2 separate regions of the Homo sapiens genome follow, and region 2 is linked to region 1. Evidence: promoter capture Hi-C in 16 types of primary human blood cells and fetal thymus (Javierre and others, 2016). All regions are on one chromosome and are shown on one strand. Each heading gives the region's core, a stretch centred on a gene start or on the middle of the fragment in contact. The rest is flanking DNA. Distances are from core to core; before and after follow the strand shown.

Region 1 (4,992 bases), core at 798-3,297:
ACCATCCTCTTGCCAGACAATTCTCCTCAGACTTTGTGAATGAAGGCCAAGGAAGAAGAAATGTTGCAGTGACTCCCTTTGAGCTCATATTTCTTTCTTGTTGCAAAAACTGCTTATTTCAGCATTCATCATCTCCCTCTTTGTTGGGTAGACAATCCGCCCTGTCGGAGGATTTGTGCTGTTATTATGAGTTTGTTTATTATTAGATTTATTTCTCCTATAAGCAAATGTGTTCACAACATTCCATCGGGGAATCTTCTTAATTGTCACATAAATGTCATCTTATGTAAATTGAATATTTATCTTCCCATGGAAGGGGGTGGAGGGGAAAGGAAGAATAAACAATCTTCAGTCTTGGAGAGGGAAGGCGACTCCGGTGTCCATTCACAACTCACCCACGTGCCTTCAAAGCCAAAGGTGAGCTGAAAAATTATTGGATAATCTGAGGGGCAGCCGACCATGAGGGGGAAGAAAAAGTTGGCCACGATGCTTTGGGGATGTTGGGCCAGGCTCCCCACAACCTCCTCCCGAGGCCAGACCCACCCCCTCCCCAGCTAGAGGCATTCCGAGGAGGTTGGAGCTTGACCCCCGATTCCTCCCCAACCAGGAGGCCAGTCCTTCTCCTTCCTCGAGAGAAGGTGAGCTCGGCGGGCGCAGCGGGTTGGGTGGGTGTGGCCCGCGGCTCCGGGAACAGACCCAAGGCCCCGCCACCGCCGGCTAGCAGCCCGACAGCCCGCCCGCCTGGCGAGCGCAGGCTCTTCTTCCAGAAACTGCGAGGATCCGAGCGTACTGTTTGTGCACCACAAGGTCAAGTCGGGAAGTGGAGCCGGAGGAGGAGGGGCGAGGAGGCGAAGGGTGGGGAGAGGGGCGCCCCGCTTCCTCGCCATGTGCCAGCCTTTGGAAGTTACCCCTCGGTTTTTAACCCTTTCGGGGTAATGGGAAGGAAGAGCAAGGAGGAAGGGGTCGCCCCGGGGCAAAATCCTGCTGGGGCCAGGATGTGCAACCACCCACCCACCCGCTCATCACTGCCTTCTCCACCCCCCGGAAATGCGGGGCAGCGCTAGGCGCCAGGAGGCACCCGGGAGGGGGGAGGGGGCGACGAGCCCAATGGGGACCCTCTCTACGGACCGCCCCTCTTTTCTTGAGGTCGCCTACAATTTCAAGTTCCCCCGCCCGGAATGTTAGTTTTCCATTTGGAGTGGGTGCGGGGAGGAGGGCCGCGCCCCCTCCCCAAGACTCGCGTTCGCCCCTCCACTCCCCTCCTGCCAGCACTTTCTGCTCACTTCTGGTGCTGCAAAACGCCACGCAATTTATTCGATTCGCATTTTAAAACCAGCGATTCAGAAGCAGGGCCTAGGGCGAGGGTCTTCCAGCGCTGGAGCCCCGGGGGGCGGGGTGCTCAGTGCAAACCTCGTTCCCTCCGCGAGTGTCGCCTCCAGGCTGTTATTTGCAAAGAAACGTCTTTTTGACGCAGGGAGAAATGGCAAATTTTAAGTACGTCATTAATATGGCGCCAAAAGATTTTTTTAAGTATAAGCTCGCTTTTTTTTTTTTTTAAGGTTGCGGGGGGCGCCGCCCGGGTCTGGGGCGCGTAGGGGGCGGGGTGTGAGCAGAAAGTGTGAGTGAAAGAGTGGAGGGGCGGGGTATGTGTGTGAGTGTGTGAAGTGTGAGCAGACCTGATGGGACTTGCACGGGCGCAGCCGCCGCTCGGGCCCGGCCCTGGGGACAGGGCGGGCTAGGGGCGCCCCAGAGTCCATGGGGAGTCCGGGCCCAGGGTGCCAGCAGGCGTGGTGGTGGGGCTGCGAGGGAGGGCACCCTTCCCCCACGGGGCCCGCAACGCTACCTGGACTCCCCGCCGGAGCCAAACAACTGGGCGGGGGGTTGGGGGGGCGGCGACGGGGGTGTCGGGAGCGGAGATCCGAGTGAATAAGAAAAAAGTGGCTACTCCCCCTCCCTCGCTCCTCCTGCCCGCCCCCACCCCACCCCCACCCCAACACATTTTTTTTTTCTAAAGAGATCACAAGGAAGTCTTGGTTTAAAAAGAAACAGAAACATACACAGGGGGTTGGTGAATGGTGCCGACCGCGGCCATCGCAGTTGGAGGCTATTTTTTGGGGGGGGTGAGTAGCGTCCATGGAGTTACTTTGCGCCCACTCCTAGCGGCACCGGCTTAGGTCCTGCGGGCCGACCGTCCCCGGCGGGGGGCGTGGGGCCTGGGACGCCGCGGGCCCGGCCGCCTCCCTCGCCGCGACCCCGGATGGATGCGCGCCCCCCGCCCTCCCGCGCCGGCCCCAGGAGCTCCCGGCTTCGGGAGCATCCTTCCCGCGCCGGTCCCTGCAGCGGCGCGTAGCCGAGGGCAGCGCCCGTCAGGGGGGCACCGCGGAGCAAGGTAAGATCCAGCCCCCGGCGGATGGGCCCTGCGCATCTCCACGACGTTATTTGGCGTTTTTGCAACAGATCTGCCAGCGCTCTTCGCTCCCTCGCTCTCTCTTGCTCGCTCGCTCCCTCTCTCTCCTGCTGGCTGCCTGTTCTAGGAAGCCAGCGCGGAGAGGGGGGGGATGCACAGCACAGGGGAGAGAGATTGCGCATGTTGGTCAGTCGTGTTTTAAAGAGTACAGTGCGGGGAGGCTGAGAGGGGCGCATGCAACAACAACTTTTGGAAGGGTGAGCTTGGCGACCTTCTTTATTAATGACTGCGGCAAAGCGCCCCCGGGCCGGCGAGGGGGCGCGGGCGGGCGGGGGCGCGCCAGGGCTGCAACTTCCCCGCGGGCTCCGGCCGGGCGTAGGGGCTGCGGCGGGAGATGGGTACGGTGGGGAGGTCGAGCGGCCCGGGCGGGGGCTCCGAGAACCTGGAGCTATCTGCCCTCCTGTCTCCCCGAGTTTCATTTTGTTGATACGCAGCACGTCCGGGCGCCGAACCGGGCTGAGCCGGTGCACATGACCTCGCGCTGGGCTCACGTGCAGCCGGTCCGGTCCCAGACACCTTCCGGGGGCCACCGCCTCCGCCCTGTCGCCCCCTCTCCCGGCCCGGTGCACGCGGGCGCTGCACGCGGGGGCAGCATGCTCGGCTCCTGGGGTTGGAGGCTCTGCACAAATTAGACAGTTTTTTTGGAGGGGCGGGGGACACCCTTTCCAGGTGAGTGTGGAGGGTGCGGAGCCTCGGCGCCAGGGGTGAGGACTGGGGTCGGGGGCAGCCTCCACCTCCGGGGCCGCGCGGTAGTCCAGCTGGGGAGAGGCGCTGGGAGAGTGGAAATGTACCGGCGGCGGCCGGAGCGGCGGGTGCGCGCCCGCGGGGCGACGGCAGGGGGCGTGGCCCTTGTTTACCTTCTCCCAACTCTGCCGGTTCGCGTCCCGCTTCAGGGACGGATCCGCAGTCCCCAGCCCTCTGCCTAGGGCCCTGCACCATGGGTGGTACCAGGAAGATGCCGGCTTGTGGCGGACCCCGTTTGGGACGCACACACCTGACTCTCAAATGAGTGACATTGCAGCCCCCGCCCCCACCTAGCGCTGCTGCAGTCCCTTTGCCGGATCCCCGGCCCCGCCCCGCCCCCGGCAGTGGCATCTTCCCGGCCTCACCTCCTTCCTCCCTCTCCCTCCCTTCTTCCCACCCACTCGCCTGCGCCTGCGGAGCGGCGCCCGCCCGCCTCCTCCCCGCCTGGGTGCAGACTTGTGGCTCCCCATGGTTTCTTCCCGCCCATCCCTGGGTCCTGAGACATCCTCTCCTCTCGGCCAAGGGACGAGAGGGGTCAACTTGGCGATTCGCAGCTGTTCTGCCAGAGGATGGGGTTGCCTGCGAGACAGCCAGGAAGGCTTCACTCTAGCTTCCAGAGGCCCAGCCCTGTCCCCTACTACACACAGCTACCACCCCACCCGCCCCTGGGGCTCGGCTGCCCTTCCCGGTGTCTCTTAAACCCCTCCCCCGACCTGGGTGTTAAGCCCACCCACCTCCCGGCGCCGCCCCCGGTCGAACAGCCTCTTGCCCTTCCTTCGCCTGGGCCGGAGCCCCCCGCAGCCTCCTCCGGCTCCTCCTCCCGGCTCCGGCGGTCGGAATCACGCCGGCGCGCCTCCAGCCTGCGGTCCCGCGGACTGCCTCCAGGGGCGGGCTGGAGGCGCGCGCAACTCCCCTCCCAATCCCCTCAGCCACTGCCGCTGGCCTGGGCACTTTTTTACCAGCTTGGCTGCTGGCCTCTTGCTGGAGGCTGGGGGAGGTGAAGGGTCACTGGGTGTCTTTGCCGTATGCCGAAGGCACACTGCGGCCGGCGATTCTGGTCTCTGCAGATTTCCAAACCTCGCCGCTGCGTCTAGCACCCCTGGGTCATCTTCTGCAGGATCCCGAGGCACAAAGTTGTATCCCGGGTCAGAGTTTGTAGGGGGTCATCGAGAGGTGTCATGTTTCCATTCAGAGCGGTTCCAAAGCGTCTAGGAAGGGGCTGAGTGGGACCTGCTGCCTTGCCTTTGTTGGAAGGAGGACCCCTGAGCTCTGATCCCAGACAGGCTGTCAGGACGCCCCCTTAGCATTTATGTTTGCAAACTGATTCCTGGACCTGGGAGGTGGTAGGGCCGCCTGGCCCCTCCTCTCGGAGTGGCATTAACTCCCTCCCTTCACTGGTAAAATTCCCAGTAGGACATTTGGCAAAAGGGCTCGGCATGGAGCTGCCAACCGGGCCTGGCTTTGTTTCCTGGGTTCCCAGGGCTTCTCCCCTACCCTGACTTTCTTTCTCACCTTAGGGCCCCAGATGAACGCACCGTCCGTCTTGTCCCATCTTCCTTAGACGGGCTGGGACTCGCAGAGCCATCTAACAAGCAGAGGAGGAAAATAACAACAGAATAACTATAAGGGGGAAGGAATGAGTAATAAAGCTGACCCAGGCAGGGAGGAGGGCTTTCATGTTTAAGAGATGCTATTTGCTTTTTGGGTCACAGGCTGCAAAAACAGGCTTTGATCCGAAGTGGGCGAATAATTTATTGAGCAAGTTTGCATGGTAGAGGAAG
Region 2 (4,992 bases), core at 1,521-4,020, 560 kb before region 1:
CCTGCCTCATCCAAGTAACCATTATCTCACATGGATTATTACAATAGCCTCCTAATTAATCTGCCTGCTTCCACCCTAACTTCTACTGTCTATACTCAACACAGCAGCCAGAGTCATTCTGTCAAAACTTAAATCAAATGTTACTCCTCTACTTAAGACCCTCTAGGGCCATCCATTTCTCACAAAAGTGAAAATTTTTATAATAGCCTTCAAGATCCTACATGATCTGGCCCCCATTACCTCACTCTCATTATCTTACTAATCTCCCTAACAGCTCTATCCCCATTACCTACTTAATAGATAGCAGGCACTCAATAAATATTTATTGAATATGCTCTCGATTCAACTCTCACCACAAATCCCACACCACATCCCACATAGCATCTATGCACCTACTGCACTCCCTCAAGAGCCCATGCCATGGTTCTCAGCAAAACGCCACTCATTCTTCTAAGGATACCCCCAGTATCACCCTATTCATTGTTTAACTCCAATACCTAGCACCAAGTAGGAGCAGAATGTCTTAGTCAAGCAGTAAAATCTTGGAAGTAATACACAAATACAGCACAAGAAAAAACAAATAATTGACCTGAAACATGTAATACAAAGGCTATCAACTTACTCAAACTCCTTCAAATCAGAGAAGTTGATTAAGTCAGATATGAAGAGTATTCAGAACAAAGGTACAACTCTGACTTTACGGATTTAACTGTTGACCTTCTATGAGCATATAAATAAGACTTCTAAATCTTCCCTTTCCTAATTGATATTACCTCTCTACTTGAAGCTTAACATTTTAAAAATAAAGCTTAGGCCGGACACGGTGGCTCACGCCTGTAACCCTAGCACTTTGGGAGGCCAGGGCAAGTGGATCGCTTAAGCACAGGAATTCAAGACCAGCCTGGCCAACATGGCAAAACCCCATCTCTACAAAAATACAAAAATCAGCTGAGCACGGTGGCAGGCACCTGTGGTCCCAGCTATTCAGGGGGCTGAAGTGGGAGGACTGCTTGAGCCCAGGAGGCGGAAGTTGCAATGGGCCAAGTTTGTGCTACTGCACTCCAGCCTGGGCGACAGAGCAAAACCCTGTCTCAAACAAACAAACAAAAAAGGCTGGGCACAGTGGCTCAGGCCTGTAATCCCAGCACTTTGGGAGGCCAAGGCGGGCGGATCACGAGGTCAGGAGATTGAGACCATCCTGGATAACACGGTGAAACCCCGTCTCTACTAAAAATACAAAAACTAGCCAGGTGTGGTGCGCGCCTGTAGTCCCAGCATACTCGGGAGGCTGAGGCAGAAGAATCACTTGAAACCGGGAGGCGGAGGTTGCAATGAGCCGAGATCACGCCACTGCACTCCAGCCTCGCGACAGACTCAAAAAAAAAACAAAAAACAAAACTTTATAAATTTAATTCTCCCCTTCTACTGGTCCCTTTTTAAAAACTGCCCTAAAATAAAACTATATCAGCATTTCTTAAACTTAAGAATGCAGAGGACCCCGAGAACTCATTCACACACTGGTTTGAGAAACAATGCCTTAAAAATGAAATGCATTATACATTAAGTTTAGGTGATCATTTGGGGACAATATAATGGCAAATGTAGAGAACCAGGCATTTTTGAAATGGCATGACCAAGAATTAGTCACCCAGTGATCCAAACTGCTTATGTTAATTTTTTAGACTTGATCAAAACAAAAACATAAAACAAAAATTCTTACAGACTGACGAGCATATAACCAAGCATTGACAGTTTTTAAAACCTAATATGGAACAAATTTAAATAAATCTAATGTGGTAACCTTCTACCTTTGTAAACTCACTTGAAATTTGGAACTCAACACATTCTAGACTAATTTTCTTATTACAGGAGTGACTACTTTGAAATTATAAGGTATGCTTACAAAAAATACTTATATCCCAAGCTACACTGTAGTGCAGTGGAGCTGCTCGCCTATTAAAGACATGTATGTTCGTTTTCATTTAGCTTCTTTTCAGGACAGAATAATCTGAATTTATGACATTTTAAACTGGTGTATGTAAAGACTTAATTTAAAAGATAAAGATTCTCTAAAATGTCTCAGTATAGTTAGAAAAATATTTATAGGGCTCTAACAAATAAAAGCAGAGACTAAAGGACACTTAACAGTCCACATTCTGCCTCACTTCTTGCCCAATTTTCAACCATCTCTTAGGGGAAAAAAGCTGTTTCTGAAACTACAGTTGCCAGATATATATCCCTTAAGCATTCCAGCAGGAAATATAAATGTTTGTGTTTTATTTTTCTTAGATGATTAAATGGCCAAAACAATTAAGCTACTTAAGTACTTTAGGAACGGGAATATCTGCATCAACCAGGGAAATCCTCATTACATTTCACTAATGATAAAAGGGCCTTAGGAAATGGACAGCAGTCCTTCCTCAGGGACTGCAAAGACTTCTGGGAGGGCGTCCAGTTAGCAACACTGAAATGTTGCTGAGGAAACATAAGTATGTACCCACAGTACTGTCGCAGAGGAATGTAGGGCTGGACAGGCCCTGCTGGCAAGAAAGAAAACACTATACCAGGTCACACTGTTTTGCAGCTGAAAATTCAAATTTAGGGAGAAACGCAGGACTGTGTCTTGGCCTGAAAGAAAAATGGGACTACTAAACAAAATACCGTTTAATCCTTACAAGTTCTTAATAGTGGATTTTTCCCACCAAGTATCAGGCACTGGTTTACAGATTTCCTAATTTCTCAATAAAAGCCTTCAATCTCTTGATTTCACCATGCAACATTTGCAAGAAATGAAATATTTTATCAATCAAATCCTACAGATGCATTAAAACGAGGCAGGGTTATCCTGGTTAACTCGGAACACAGGGAAGAGGAATCATGATCTCCCTTGTCTCCAAACTCCTCTCTGCCTCCCAAGCCTTCAGGGGCCCAACGCCCCAGTACTCTGAATCTTTATCAAACACCAGAACCTCCCAGTCTTCAAATATGCACCAGTACCCTAAGACAGCTCTTTCCCTTTCACTTTCCCTCTCGGAAATATTCCATTGGTTCAGTCCAGTCACTGGATTACTGCCCCTGCCCGCCTCGGTCTTTACCACTGACCTCTCCCATTCTGGAAAACCCCCACCTTTCCTTGGTCCTGCAAGATTCCTGAGTCCCCCAAACTCAGGACCCTTTCCAGACACCACACCCCCAGCCCCGGCCACCTCCTCAGCCCCTGTCGCCACCCTCTCTTCCAGAGTCTCCTAACTTTCCGATCCAAGAAATTTTGGAGACCCCACCACCGCCATTCCTTGCGGCAGCCCATTCTTCAACGATCTCTAGGCGCTAACACCACTCCTCCCTCCCCGCCCATCTACACACCCTGCTGCCTGCTCCCTGGGTTCCTGCATCTCTCAGGGACCCCGCTTCTCAGGCCCCTTGGAGACCCTACCACCTTGGACCCCTTCAGACACCATACCCTCCGTCCTCAGGCCCGCGGAGACCCTGACCCAACCAGACACCGCCGTCTGCTCCTGACACTTGGAAGCGCCCTTTCCCTGGCCCGGCCTGTCTCCTGCCCTGCGCCCGAGCCCTCCTAGCCTTCCTAAGCCCACACTGCCGCCCCCCTTTACCACTGGATAGAGCGGCGGACACAAGCAGGAGCGCCAAGACCAGCGGCCGCGCCAACCCCACAAGGGCTTGGATGGCCGACCCGGGCAGCAGTTTCGCTTGTGCTGGCCCCCTCATCCTCTTCGGGACGGCAGCGGCCATAACGGACTCGGCTGGGAGCCTGCGCTGTTGCTAGGCTCTACGCCATGAGGTCAGACGCCGCGGCCCTCGGCACATACGTCCCAGCGTGGTGACGTCGAAGCCTGGAGACGTGCTCTGGAAACCGGAATAAGAAGGAAGGATTGCAGGGAGGAGGGAGTTGCCGCTAGGCGAAAGTGGGGACCGCCACACAGTTGGCTGCGGATTAAAGGTAGGGTGTGACGTGCTGAAGAGGGCCAAAGCGAGCCCCTCCCTGCCGCCTGCATGATTGGGTACTATACAGCCAAAAATAGCGTTTTTAGCCATTTTAAAAAGGAAGATCCAGCTGTAGAACAGACTGATCACGAAAGCGAAGTAACTGCTCTTCCTCTCTCAAAGGCGAAAGAAACACAAATGTTAAGTAGTCCTATTTCGGTGATGGGATTATAAGTAATTTTTAAAAATCTTTCCCGACAGTCATTTATTTTTTTTCAACAAAGATTTAGCACCTCTCCCTATTTAAGATACAGCAGTGAACAAAAAGAACCCCCCACCCCCCCGCCCGCCTTGGCAGTTTATTTTCTTGTGAGGGCGAATATGGTGTAAAATACACACTATACAAGATGATAAAGATATTATGGACCGGCCCTAGTGCAGTGGCTCCCAGCACTTTGGGAGGCCGAGGAGGGCAGATCACCTGAGGTCCGGAGTTGGAGACCAGCCTGGCCAACATGGAGAAACCCCGACTCTACTAAAAATACAAAAATTAGCCAGGCGTGGTGGCGCGTGCCTGTAATCGCAGCTACTCGGGAGGCTGAGGTAGGAGAATCGCTGTAACCCGGGAGGTGGAGGCTGCAGGGAGCCGAGATGCCACTGCACTCTAGCCTGGGCCACAGACTCCGTCTCAAAAAAAAAAAAAAAATTATGGAGGAAAAGAAAGGAAGGTAGCTAGGAAGTAGAGGTGAGGGGCTGCCATTGAAAATAACTTTCAGATTTCCTAAAATAAGCTTCTCTTTTTAAATTTTGTTACTTGAAATCCCCAGTGTATAAAAATGCAAACTTACAAACTTCCAAGAAGTTCACCTAGGGCCCTGGCGCCATACTTTGCTCTGTGTGTACGTTCTGTAAATGTCTCCTTAATAAACAGATACAGGCTTCAATTCATAAAAGTTCCATTTGATCAATTTCAGGAAAATCAATGTGACGTTAAGCAAGACATTTATTGTGCCCACAGCTTCACCATTCTGGTCTCTATGATTCCCT

What was found. The method cuts DNA at HindIII sites, captures the fragments that hold promoters and counts their contacts. A CHiCAGO score of 5 or more calls a contact.
Region 2: a contact is called between a fragment that was not itself captured here and the fragment with the promoter of JADE2 in region 1, in 1 of 17 cell types (total CD8 T cells). The highest score is 6.3, in total CD8 T cells.

The regions. Positions count from the first base shown.
Region 1 is chr5:134,523,623-134,528,614 of GRCh38, forward strand. JADE2 (jade family PHD finger 2) reads left to right here and starts at 2,048. Exons shown (of 12, transcript NM_001388185.1): 1 at 2,048-2,389. It overlaps LOC124901070 (a long non-coding RNA gene), which reads right to left and starts at 1,980. Exons shown (of 3, transcript XR_007058942.1): 1 at 1,844-1,980; 2 at 1,284-1,461; 3 at 1-422. RefSeq lists silencers at 818-1,137, 1,718-1,767, 1,788-2,007, 2,138-2,217, 2,248-2,507 and 2 more. The HindIII fragment of the contact is 6,085 bases long and covers 1-4,992 here.
Region 2 is chr5:133,964,832-133,969,823 of GRCh38, forward strand. It overlaps C5orf15 (chromosome 5 open reading frame 15), which reads right to left and starts at 3,794. Exons shown (of 3, transcript NM_020199.3): 1 at 3,615-3,794. The coding sequence starts at 3,753. It overlaps LOC105379183 (a long non-coding RNA gene), which reads left to right and starts at 3,858. Exons shown (of 2, transcript NR_134247.1): 1 at 3,858-3,961; 2 at 4,920-4,992. RefSeq lists enhancers at 2,988-3,087, 3,718-3,937. The HindIII fragment of the contact is 3,928 bases long and covers 807-4,734 here.